Regions from separate parts of the Homo sapiens genome. Here all the other regions are linked to region 1. The links are contacts of gene promoters, found by promoter capture Hi-C in blood cells and fetal thymus (Javierre and others, 2016). All regions are on one chromosome and are shown on one strand. The core of a region is centred on a gene start or on the middle of the fragment in contact, and the rest is flanking DNA. Distances in the headings are between cores, read along the strand shown.

Evidence for each region. Contacts are between HindIII fragments. The CHiCAGO score rates a contact against its expected background, and 5 or more counts as called.
Region 2: a contact is called between a fragment that was not itself captured here and the fragment with the promoter of LLPH in region 1, in 5 of 17 cell types (total CD8 T cells, total B cells, total CD4 T cells and 2 more). The highest score is 7.4, in total CD8 T cells.
Region 3: a contact is called between a fragment that was not itself captured here and the fragment with the promoter of LLPH in region 1, in 3 of 17 cell types (megakaryocytes, erythroblasts and endothelial precursors). The highest score is 9.8, in megakaryocytes.
Region 4: a contact is called between a fragment that was not itself captured here and the fragment with the promoter of LLPH in region 1, in 4 of 17 cell types (megakaryocytes, M2 macrophages, endothelial precursors and 1 more). The highest score is 7.2, in megakaryocytes.
Region 5: a contact is called between a fragment that was not itself captured here and the fragment with the promoter of LLPH in region 1, in 2 of 17 cell types (total B cells and naive B cells). The highest score is 5.6, in total B cells.

What each region holds. Positions count from the first base shown.
Region 1 is chr12:66,129,467-66,132,045 of GRCh38, forward strand. LLPH (LLP homolog, long-term synaptic facilitation factor) reads right to left here and starts at 1,284. Exons shown (of 3, transcript NM_032338.4): 1 at 1,239-1,284. LLPH-DT (LLPH divergent transcript) reads left to right here and starts at 1,285. Exons shown (of 2, transcript NR_125724.1): 1 at 1,285-1,509. RefSeq lists enhancers at 1,008-1,157, 1,198-1,307. The HindIII fragment of the contact is 2,232 bases long and covers 1-1,859 here.
Region 2 is chr12:65,179,207-65,181,785 of GRCh38, forward strand. The region is part of intron 1 of LEMD3 (LEM domain containing 3); the gene reads left to right. Among named protein-coding and RNA genes, the nearest start is that of LEMD3, 11 kb to the left of the region's middle. The HindIII fragment of the contact is 2,224 bases long and covers 165-2,388 here.
Region 3 is chr12:65,279,429-65,282,007 of GRCh38, forward strand. The region is part of intron 1 of MSRB3 (methionine sulfoxide reductase B3); the gene reads left to right. Among named protein-coding and RNA genes, the nearest start is that of MSRB3, 2.0 kb to the left of the region's middle. RefSeq lists a silencer at 1-4. The HindIII fragment of the contact is 1,737 bases long and covers 420-2,156 here.
Region 4 is chr12:65,298,139-65,300,717 of GRCh38, forward strand. All of the region lies in intron 1 of MSRB3 (methionine sulfoxide reductase B3), which reads left to right. Among named protein-coding and RNA genes, the nearest start is that of MSRB3, 21 kb to the left of the region's middle. The HindIII fragment of the contact is 896 bases long and covers 857-1,752 here.
Region 5 is chr12:66,658,170-66,660,748 of GRCh38, forward strand. The region is part of intron 1 of GRIP1 (glutamate receptor interacting protein 1); the gene reads right to left. Among named protein-coding and RNA genes, the nearest start is that of GRIP1, 20 kb to the right of the region's middle. RefSeq lists an enhancer at 756-1,257. The HindIII fragment of the contact is 3,950 bases long and covers 1-2,579 here.

The sequences.
Region 1 (2,579 bases), core at 34-2,533:
CCTCCACCTCTCAGGTTCACGCCATTCTCCTGCCTCAGCCTCCCGAGCAGCTGGGACTACAGGCGCCCGCCACCACGCCTGGCTAATTTTTTGTATTTTTAGTAGAGACGGGTTTTCACCGTGTTAGCCAGGATAGTCTCGATCTCCTGACATTGTGATCCGCCCGCCTCGGCCTCCCAAAGTGCTGGGATTACAGGCTTGAGCCACCGCGCCCGGCTGAATTTCTTTACAAAATACAGAAATTTAATTTCCCCAGAATGCAACAGCGTCATCACCTTACATTTATGCAACAGCTTACAAATTACAAATGATTTTTATAAACACTTCACCTCATCTTCATTATCCATCCTCTCAAGCCAACTTAACGACTGTAAACTTATCTATTCCTACTCTTGTTTTCTTTCCACTCAGTTCCGCCCTAAATCCTCCACAAGGTGCTCAGTGTGATCTTTTAAAAAAGCATTCACTGCCTTTCTTCGAGTTCTTTAAAGACCTCCTCCCTCATATATATTCAAGATCTACAAGGTCATTTGTGATCTGTCCCCTGCCTCCTTCAACTCTATTTCATTTCATTCTCCATCCCCATCCCCGCAGGCACCAACTACGTCTGTAAAGAGTCCAAACTATCTCTACGTCAGTGCCTTCATATTTGCTGTCCCTATGCCTGGCAACTGCTCTTCTCAAGGCTTGCTCCTTCATTCGCTACCTCAGAAAGGACTCCTCTGACCTCCGTAAGCTCCCTTCCCTGCTTATTAAGTGTTACAACCTGAAACCATTGTTTTCTGTCACGCCCCCCGACCCTCTCCCCAGACTGTAGACTCCACGAAGGTAGAGGGAAAGGTCTTGTTCACTGCTGAATCGCACACTTTTTGCATACTTGTTGAACGAACCACTAACATTTTTTGAACGCCGGCAATCACAGTCATTCCGCTCCCTTGTCTACATAACTCAACCCTTGCGAGGGGCTAGGAAAGCGGGCGGCAAACAACCTTGAGGGCCGAAGTTAACTTCAGCGGGAGTGAACGACAGGGGTGGGCTCCACTTTATCCAGTGCACTCGGAAGCCGGAGGGCCCCCACCAAAAAGAGCAAGGGGAACCCTCGCCCTCAACAAGGCCTGCATCTCCGGACTGGAGCTCAAGTATAGCCCAGCGAGTGTCAAGAAACGAAATTCTCCAAGGGTGGCGGAATCAAGCCCCAAGTCCCATGTGTCACTGGACCGGTGAGGAACCGAACTCACCTGAGAAACGAACACCCACACCTCACGCTCACGCCGACCGGAAGTCTTTGCACTTCCGTCTTCCGGGCGGAGGCCACCCGGGGCGGACGCATTGCACGCCGGGAGACAAAATGTCTCAAGAAGCCTTGAGAGGCGGGATTTTGGAACCCGGGCGCTGACGAGCTTCCGCCATTGGTGTGATCGCGGACCTAGAAACTTGGTCCGTCCCATACAGGTGTAGAAGTCGGATTTGGAGAATGCTGACGGGTGTCCGGTCAAGGTTAGGCCCCAGGTAGGTCCGCTTTCCGGACGTGGGCAGGGTAGCCCCGAGACTAACCTATGGAGTGAACCTGGCCAGGGGACCCTACTTGTCAGATAGGGAGCTCCGAGCCGACCTTTAGATCTGACCTCAGCGTTTACATGATACTCATGTATTTCCTTAGATCAAGTCAGCCTAGATCAGGTGTTCTTCCAGAGGCCGTATTGAGATCATTTTTATTTGCAGCCTGTGCATTTTCTCATCTCGGGTGATGGCCTCACAGATGTACACATATGTAAAACCGTATCAAACTGCACACTTTAAATATGTGCAACTTATTGCATGTCAGTTATACTCAAAGCGGTTACCAAAAACAGAAAACAAGCTTTTCCTACCCCAGAGAAGAATTTAAAGGGTAAAATGATCAAAGGATTTCAGTTCTATCAATGTTTACCTGTCTGATCACTTACGTATCAGACACAATGCTAAGCCTAGGACGATTGTCTTAGCTCACGAATAACACTTACTGTACAACTATTTCTACTGGCATAGGCTTTGGAACCATATAGGTCTGTGTTGTACTCTTGCTTCCAACACTTGTGAACGATATGGGTGAGTAATTAATGTCATAAGGGCCTGAATTTCCTTGTCCCTAAAGTGAACATAATACAACCTAATTGATGCTGTAAGAGTTCAACAAATGGTACCCTTTTTACATTATAGTTTCAAAAGTATAGCTACACAGTACTATTTGTAAGCAATGTTTCTAGAGATTTACGACATATACCCAAAAAACATGTCTTTAATGATGGCCTGGTAAACTCCTGCTGGTTGCCAGAAAAAGGGGTTCTGAGGCAATCTATGGGTACCTTTTTTCTTTAAATTTGTGTCCTTTATGAAACCATGCATAGTATGGAAATTACTGAATTCAGAATATAGCAAGGTTAAAGAGGCTGAAAAAAACCTAGAACATTTGATATAAAAAAAGGAAGCATGCCTAAGAAACCTGGTTTATTTAAATGAGATTTCGTTCTTATAAAGCAAGTGAATTTCTGTTTTACAAGTTAACCATATACTGTACCTCATCTTTCAAATGAGAAGTT
Region 2 (2,579 bases), core at 27-2,526, 950 kb before region 1:
TCATACATTTGATCTCCCTTTTTTGCTCCTTTTGAATAAACTTCATATTTTCCCTTTATACTCATATATGTTTTAATGGAAATGATGCATTTGATAATTTCAGGGACACTAAAATAATCATGAAAAATTATTTTCATGATTCCTAAGAGTTGGGAAGTTCTTAAAGCTTGCTTCTCCTTGCTCATTGATTATTCAATATTAACTTTCCCTATCTGAAAAATATGTTATATAAATGGAAATTTATAGCCTCAGTGCAAAGATAATTATATAGTTTGTAAGTTGTTTAAAAGAGAAGGACACCTTAAACTGTTGGAACTCTCCAAAATGTATTTGTTAATAAATAAGTACTACTAACTTGTTTGTGAAAATTTTATTACTAATGATATAATCTAAATTCGAATGAAGATATATTCTAGGGGTGGGGAGAATATCAGGAAAAATAGCTAATGCATGCTGGGCTTAATACCTAGGTGATGGGTTGATAGGTGCAGCAAACTGCCATGGCACGCGTTTACCTATGTAACAAACCTGCACATCCTGCACATGTATCCCAGAACTTAAAATAACATTTTAAAAAAGATGTATTTTAATCTTGTATTGATTATACATTAAAAATTGCTGCCATTTAATATGGGAACATAGCTTAATACTAATTGTGGAAATTGTTATAACAGTTATTTGCTTATAACTTTGGATTTTGATTTTCATATTTAGATTTATTTTTAACATAGATTTTATTTATTTTTTATTTTTTTGGAGACAGGATCTTGTTCTCTCGCCCAGGCTGGAGTGCAGTGGTGCAATATCGGCTCACTGCAGCCTCCATCTCCTAGGTTCAAGTGATTTTCCTGCCTCCACCTCCCAAGTATCTGGGATTACAGGCACATGGCACCACGCCCGGCTAATTTTTGTATTTTTTAGTAGAGATGAGGTTTCACCATGTTGGCCAGGCTGGTCTTAAACTCCTGACCTCAGGTAATCCACCTGCCTCGGCCTCTCAAAGTGCTGGGGTTACAGGTGTGCGCCACCGTGCCCTGCCCTAACATAGATTTTAAAGTGAACCAGTAACAGTATAGTTGAGCAGTAACCTTTGGATTTCACTGTTTTAATAATCTATGCTTTAAACTGCATCAGTTTATATATTATATATTATATATATAGTTAATAATATTCTTTATTAACAATATTGCCAAAATTTTTTTAAACAAGAGTTTACCAGGAAGAAAATAAGTTAGGTTTTAATAATTTATTTTGCATGTTTAATATCATTATTTAAAAAATATATTTCTTAGGAAATTAGCTCTTCAAAAAGGTTATAAAAGTTATAGTAACAGAGGTAATCTCTAAAAATAGAATAATGCATCTATCATATGGAAGCCATCATGAATTACTTTTCATATGTCTTCATTTTCTTTTATGTCAAGGTATAGTTTAAAATTATACCACTGAATTTTTCCTGGGTGCTAGATTTATTGCTCTGTGCTTTTGCACAGCTTTTTACTTAAAATGCTTTTGCAAGATGACTTCTGAATTCATCTTTACAGCTATGTTACTATCAAATGGCAAGCTAAAGTTTAAAAACAAGGCTTGGTTGTAAAACTATGCAAGAGTGTAGTTCAGCTCTCCTGAACTAATTGGGTAGTAAGTATGCACCAATTGCTGTTCTGCCCTGAATATGACATGAATAGAAAAAACCCTTTAGTAGCAAATGGATATTTTAGCACATAGCAGAAAATTAATTTTGTTTCTCAGTTAGCTCATATATATCTGAGTATGTACACAAACACACACACACACACACACAATTTTCTGACTATGGCTAATTCCTGAAAGCATGCTGTACTTACAAAGGATGCTTTTGCTCTGTAGGAATTCACCAAGGTAAAATTTTCAAAGCATATGAAGAGGATTGTTGAAATTAATTAGGAGGTGAGGGGAATCTTGGGATATCTACTTCTTCTAGCCTCTGAGCTATGGCTTGGAACCTTGGTCAGCCTTATTAAGGACTTCCTTAGTTTATAAGTGTATCTCCCATGGGATCACAAATGCTTTCTTGTTTGATTTAGTTCATTTGAAGAAACATTAAGTTTCTCCTACTCATTTATTCATTCAGTCACGCATTCACCCAGATTATTTATTGAGCACCTATACTATGTACCAGGTAATGGCAGAAGATAAGTATATATCATACCTTTTAGAACTATAGGAGTGACACTCTCCCCACGCTTTGGCTGGCATTCTCTTCTTTTTCCTAAATATTTCTGCACTAGCTAGCCTTCAGAATTGGGATTTTGTTACCATGCAACAGTGTATCAGATTTATATATTGTGACTTGGGAAACATACTTTAAAAATTAGTTTCTGTAAATTTGAGTATACCATCTGGTAAAGCTTATCACAGTGTATATATACACAAAAGAAATAGTTGGCTAATTGAAGTAATGTGTGTTGATCATTCCTTTCACCTTTTCTGTATTACCATTTTCTCAATTGGGAATTCTACCTTTAAAAACCACACAATTTTAATAAATGTAGGTTTTATTTTTTGCAGGTTTTTAGGAGTAATTTTTAAAAAAGGAA
Region 3 (2,579 bases), core at 38-2,537, 850 kb before region 1:
TGCGCTGCTGCCCCGCTGCTGGGCCAGACTCCAGCGGGCCCGCCTGGCATTTCACAGGCCAAAATCGAACAGAACCCCGAGTTTGCCAGGTATCAGTTTTGCTTTGTTTTTAAGCAGAAAAAGGCATCCAAGTCTATTTTTGAAGTTTTACACTGGGCTATTTCGAGTCAAACTATATGAATGAAAAGTGCTGTTCCTGCCTTATTTGGTTTAGGGCTAATAGCTATCGGAAGTGGCAGTTATGAAGTCGTTACAGTAAGACTTTATAAGATAATCTTCTTGAATCATGTGGGAACTGTTGGGGGGAATTTAATATCAGATTATTATTTTAAAAAGCAGTTATTTTAAAGTACAAAGGTAGGGATAAAGGTAAATGTGAAATTGCATGGACTTTTACGTTTGTGATGAGTAGTCGTCAAAGCTTCTTGCTTCTTAATTTTATCGGGAATGGAAGAATATAAATTATAATTCCTTAGAGCTGAGATTTCTTAGGAGATTTTAGTTTGCTTTTGTTTTTTCTACCAATAGACTAAATTGTCAAATAAGATATGGCAAACTAGGACTCATAAATTAGTTGAAACATGACTCTATGAAGCATAGATTATATTCAGTACTCTCTGGTTTATCTCTTCATATTTTCATTTGCAGCGCTGGTGGCAAGATCGATTTTCAAAAACAATTTTGTCTATAAAAAAACTTCAGGGTTCATATAACTTATAAAATTGTCAGTTCAGATTAATGGCAGATATTTACAATATTTAACTTTATTCAATTTGCAATTTGTAAATAGTAACTTGAGCAGTGATATCAGTTTCATGTTTCTTTCTGCATAGTATTGTTTTTCAAAAAAACCCTGTTTTTTATAGATTCATATTTTGGAAGTAACTTTAATAGCACTTCTTGGGAAATACAACAGGTTCTAATTTCACATTTTTCAATGGATTTCTAAAAAATACTGTGCTGGATAGTGAAGAGTGGATTTTATTGCCAGGAAACATATGTATGCTTTCTTTTTCCTCAGTGATGTGTTGACTTACCTAATACTTGTGGTGAAACGGCCTTCGAAGACCAGAATCCACTGTACTGGCCCCTTGCCAGTAATTTTGAACATCAAGTTTATATTTGGACCATTTAAACATATATTCTTTTAATTCCGGTCCCAGCTGATATATCAGTCTAATTTCTGATGACTTTTATTAGGGCCCTATATGAATATCTGGAAATTTTTATATTAAGATAAGTAGCTCTTTGCTACTTATCTAGAATTTTGTCACAGTGCTTAAACTGCTTGTATGGCAAGGTTGCAGCATACAATGTAATTTAGATTTTGAATCAACACACTGCTTTTTGTTTTTAAAAGTGCTTGTTCTAATATTTTAACTAAGATGTTAATCCATTAAGTCAGAAATCCTTGCTATTTTGCTCAACTCAAAAGAATATCCAAAGACTATCCCAACAGTAAGGTTCATCAGTTTTTCTAATACATATGCCATTTAATAATTAAAAATAGATTTTAAGGCCACGTGTGGTGGCTCATGCCTGTAATGCAACACTTTGGGAGGCCAGTGTGGGAGGATTGCTTGAACCCAGGAGTTCGAGACCGGCCTGGTCAACATAGGGATACCCTGTCTCTACAAAAATTAAAAAAAAATTAGCTGGGCATAGTGGCTCACTCCTGTGGTCTCAGCTACTTGGGAAGCCAAAGTGGGAGGATTGCTTGGGCCAGGGAGATCGAGGCTGTGGTAAGCCGTGATCACACCACTGCATTTTTGGTTCTGTCATAATCTGGTCACAATCCCTCTAATTTATCTGCACCTGTATAATTAATTTATCATAGTTATGGATTTGGTTGATGAATTTGATTCCCATGTTTAGCTTCTCGGTAAAATTATTAAGTTGGACAGTTTCCATGTCTCTTCTAACTCCAAGATCCTATAATGTTGTTTTTGTTTATGTAACTCTTCAGAGCCACCTACTACATGTGGTTCAAACTTCTGATTGTCAGCCTGTGACTTGCTATACATGTCAAACTGGCCTACCTTAGCCAGATGTGATGGGTGTGGTCCAGTGTTGGAGAGTCCGGATCTGTCTCAGGATTGTGTTAATACCTGGAACATGCACAAAGATACATACATACCTGGACAGATTCCGTGTTAAGCTTCTATCACTTTTTCTTCCTCATCTAATAGCAGAAAGTGCTGATTATGTCATAGGGTAAATGCCTAACTGGTTTTTGGGGATAGTTAAGCCCAGGCCTTAAGACAGTTTGATATTCAGTTTTGTTATTTAGGTCTGGGTTAGGGATACCGCCAGAGAGCATCCAAACATTTCTGTGGTTGGGAAGGCTAGTTATCTGTGAGCATTCCAGATGAAATAGCCTATAATGGGTTATCACCTTTTGATCTTACCTCAGAGAAGATTGAATTGGATCTACCTATCTGATTTAGCAGAATTAAACTGGATTTGGATGGAAGGGTAATCAGCTATTTAATTTGCCAGTTGTTAGTTAGCATTTCTTCTTGCTGTATCTCAAGGATTTACTTTGAATATTCTGTATTTTCTCTTTCCTGCCCATGATG
Region 4 (2,579 bases), core at 55-2,554, 830 kb before region 1:
AACCACAGGTGCATGCCACCACGACTGGCTAATTTTTGTATTTTTGGTAGAAACAGGGTTTCACCATGTTGCCCAGAGTGGTCTCAAACTCCTGAGCTCAAGCGATCCTCCTGCCTTGGCCTACCAGAGTGCTGGGAATATGGGCGTGAGCCACCACACCCTGCTGATGGGACTACTTTCTAACAAAGAAATACAGACAGAATAATTAGTGAAGAAAGAAAGTAATAAATGAATTGAGTTTGGGATATAATAAGCAGTTTGAAGTAGATATGGAATGCTCAGATTCTTTGAAAAACATCTTTTAATCACCTAAAATTCACGAAGAAAAACAGTATAGGACAAAGTAGAAATTTTGCAAAATATTTTATTTCTTCTACTTTATGATCTCATTCAGGACTTTTCCTCTCTCCTAAGCCCAACATGATGTCAAAGGATAGTTGATAGAGGTCATTAAATATACCTTTTAGTGGAATATAAGGAGTCCATTTTCATAAAACTTCTCTTTTATCTGCTATATCAGATGCAAGCCATCATTATAATTTTATTTAATAATTTTCTATTTTCTATGGGGAGGGATACAAAAATTCAGATACAAGAGCAGATATTTACTTGTAATTTCCAGTGCTAAAACTTTTTATTCCATGAATGGGTGGCAAAGTTCTGACTTAAAATATATGAAATATGATTTAAGGATATGTATTTTTAAGGCTTATATTTAGCTCACTAAAAATAGTCTTTTAGTGATATAGATACTGTAGTTTATAGTCCCAGGCATAGGATTTAGTCAGCTTGCATTACCAGGTTTTTTCTTTAGATAAAATGGCCCATTGAGGCACTGGATCTTTTTTTATGTATAAGCTTTACTTTTATAAAAAACCTGCACATGGCTCTTGGTACAGGGGAACTAAGGTGAAAAAAACTACCTGCAACTCCACCTCTTTCTATTTCTGTCTCACTCCTCTGAAGTCATGTTTTAAAATCATTATTCTAGTAGTTACTTTCATAATTTTGGTTAATATAGTTATAGTGCTATTTATTGATGCATCAGTTTCAGATAATAACCAGTTACAGAATATAAGTATTTATCTGCTGTCTCTTCACCTTTCTGTTTACCATTGTTAGACTTTAATAGACAACAGGCTAAGCTGCTCTGACAAAGAGATTACAAGTGGAGCAACTTACAGAAAGTAGAAGTTTCCCTTTCATATACTAGTCCAAGGTTGGGCTGGTGAATAGCTCTGCCTCATGACCTGTTAGGTTTGTCTTCCTCATCAAGTGCCTTACTTCTCAGGGTTCAAGTGTGCTGATGCAGTTGCTGCCATTTCTCAGGAGGGAAGAGGAAATCCAAAGCAAGTGACTTTGTCTTTAAAGGAGATGAGCTGAAAGATCATACATGACATTGAGTTACATTCCATTTTCCACAACTTAGTATCATGTTCACATCTAGCTGCAAGGGAAGGTGAGAAATGAGGCTGTATGTTCAGTTAAAATTTCAGGGGGTTCTATTACTAATAAGAAGAAGGGAGTATGGATTCTAGGGGTCAGTTAGCGTTTTCCAGTCTAGTTGGTGTCTTCTAACCCTCTACTTTATAAGAGGAGGACACTGATACCCTGAGTCTTTCCTCCACCTTTCTTTCCAGCCTTCTTTACATTTTGTTGCTATATAGTTTTTGTTTCACAATGTGAACTTGCTAATGCTTACAGTCTGTTCTGAAATCACAGTCAAATATTTGTCCATAGGTTGTCTCTAAAAGCTTATATTGTTATGACTATGTGCACATCGATTACTTCCAGGTCACAATGTGAGCTATTAATGTGGTTCCTTCTCATTAGTTCCAGGGTCATGATCTCAGCTGTTGAAAGAAACAGACATTTTTCTATCATCATGGCAAATGGATTGATTTTCCTTGTATTTGTTGATTGATTTAAAATCAAAAGTTGTATCTGTAAGGTCTGGATTTAGGCATTGACTTGCTAGATCACTAGCTTTCTACAGTGAATGTGCTTAGTGTCCAATAAACTTTCAATTGCTTCAGGAAATAAGATCTTCACATCGTCATTTTATTGTGACCAGAAGCTACTCAGTCACTTTTGCAGCTGAGGAAAATCTTTAGTTTTTGGTGTTGAGACAAGTTTATGAGCTCTGAGTGATCAAAGTCAAGTAGCTGTCTCCTGGCCTTTAATGTGGGAATATGAGAGGGCAGCCGTATCTTCTGACTAAATTAAGAATCTCTTTGGGATATTTAGGATAGAAGGGATGACTAATGAGAGAGAAACTATAGACTTTTGGAAGTGGTCTCACTGTCCTTGGCATTAGACTTCTCATCCTTCCAGACTCTGTTGTTTTCTAAAACAAGGACATCAATCTGGGGGCACAAGGGCCCCTGCCCTTGAGGAGTTTGGAATGTAGTAGAAGAGATTAAAATAAAGTTTAGTTCAAATTCTGGCTCCATAATTTACTGGCCATTTAACCTCAAGCAGGTAATTCTCTAAGCTTCAGTTTCAATTGGAACAAATAGCCCCCAAATCCCAATGGTTTAAAATGCTGAAGGTTTAGTTCTTCTTTGTACTGTTTGTTC
Region 5 (2,579 bases), core at 47-2,546, 530 kb after region 1:
TCTGAAAAATAAAGACAAAAGAAATCAATAAGAATGATACAAATGATACACAAGATTTTTGCTACTATTAATTAGCAAATTACTTTGAGAACTTAATGCAACCTAAGCTAACCGTAGGTTTGGGATGAGGACTCTCTTCGCAGCTAGAAAAGATCCTTGTAAATGTGAAGGAATGCCTAGTAAGTAAAGTACGGTAGTAATTAAAATTGTAGTCTTGTATTCCTGTAATCCATTCCTTTTGGGAGCATCCTTTTGGGGGCATGACTGCATGTGGATATGATAAGCAACCAACTTAAAATCCTTCATCTAGCTGGGGCAGGAGAATGGCGTGAACCCGGGAGGTGGAGCTTGTAGTGAGCCAAGATCGTGCCACTGCACTCCAGGCTGGGTGACAGAGCGAGACTCCATCTCAAAAAAAAAAAAGAAAAAAAAATCCTTCATCTAAAAAGCAGCTCCTGGCCAGGCATGGTGCCTCATGCCTGTAATCCCAGCATTCTGGGAGGCCAAGGCAGGAGGACTGTTTCAGCCCAGGAGTTTGAGACCTGGGCAACACAGGGAGATCCTGTCTCTAAAAATAAAAATAAAATAAGATAAAATAAAATAAAATAGCCAGGTGTGGTGGCATGCACCTGTGTTCCCAACTACCTGGGAGGCTGAGGGGGGAAGATTGCTTCAGCCTGGGAAGTTGAGGCTTCAGTGAGCCATGATCATGCCATTGCACTCCAGTCTGAGCAACACAGTGAGATCTTGTCTCCAAAAAAAAAACAAAATAAAACAAAAACAAACGAACAACAACAACATAAAAGGATAAAAATAAAAAGCGGCTCCTGAACTCCTTGCCTTGCTTACCCTGCTCTAGCAATACTGTGCCCCGTGATGATCCTTACATGCCAAGTTCATTCCTGCTGCATGGCTTTTGTACTTGCTCTTCTCTCTGTGTAGAATACTCTACCCTAGATAGTCATGTGGCTTTCATGTCTTGGCTCAAGTATCACCTAATCAGAGGCTGTTCCTGACTACTCCATTTCAAATAGCGCTTTCCCCCTCACTCTGTAACCTCACACCCTCTGTTAACTTTCTGCATAACATTGAGTGTGCATTTATTTGAATATTTGTTTATTGTTTTACTCTGCCATTAGAAGTGAAGCTCCATGGATGCAGAGACAAGGCCTATTTTATTTGCTGCTGTGTAAACCCTCACCACCCAGAGTTTTATCTCACACGTAGGTGCTCAATAAATATTTGTGAATGAATAAATGAAGTTGTCATTGTGCATTTCTTTTTGCAAACAACTTTGCTCTATTTATTTCATAACAAAATACTTAAAAGTTACATTTCCACATGCATTAATACAGTGTCACATAATCCTTGAGGATGTGAATGTTAAGGTGTTTCCATTTCATAAGCTCCTAAAAAAGAACACATGTACCAGTCTCTGTATTGATTCTAATTTAATATAAACTCTATATGTACACAATCTAATAGAACAATTCTTTTACATTTAAAATTGCTGTTCATTCTGACAGTATGTTTTGTATGTTCTCTAAACATGGACATTTTAAAGATATAGTTCTTGAAGGACCCAGTTTTGTAGCATATACTCACTGATGACTCAATAACTATTAACTCTTGGTGACTTGTTGCCATGCAATTCTCTTGTAAATTCTCTCTAGTGGAAAAGAAAAAGGAGTTCTACCTTGCTTTTAGACCACAGAAATGGTCTTATATAGTATAAACTCCCAAAACGCATAGAGTTAACACACAGGTTCAACACACAAAATAAACAAAGGGTTGTTTTTCTATTAAAATGATTCTATTTGCTGTACCAAGATAGCATCAAAATAAATCAATGTTCATGCTTCTTTAGAGAGAAAAACTAAAGTATCTACTGTTTTCTATGATTCTCATGTTGATGCCTAAATGCATAAAATGTGACGGCCTCAGCCCAACTATTCTCTTGTGAACTGTTAGCTGTCTTTGAAGTAAGGAATCAATATTGTGTTCACGTTAGAATTTGTGACTATCTTCAAACCTTAGTTTGGCTATTAAAATGGTCTATAAAATTCATACCCTAAAATAATAGCTAAATATTAAATATCAAAATCAATATCATAATATATCTCCTATTATAATAATGCACCTACGTATTCAAATGAATGACTGTAGCTTAGTATTGGAATATTTATCAGATTGTTCTTATGTCATGGGTAAACCTTCAATGCTGTTTGAGGCACTGAGGAAAAATGATTAAATTAATGAATTATCCTCTAATTGATATTTAAATCAAGAACTTATCCATCAGCTAATAACAAAGTATCAATTAGTTATTATTAATCAAGGTCTGTTAAACAAGATTTGTATTGTATAATTACAACATCTTCAACATTTATATTTCATGAAACCATAAGACTACATAATAATTGTACAAAATTTTACAAAGCAATTTCACATACACATTTCTCATAAACCAGTTTCAGCCCATTGTTTCATATGGCAGCACATAACACATTTCTGCTGCATGAAGTGATGTTTGAAAAGAAGCCTACGTTATTAGTTTGTCAATTTGCTTTTATTCAGAT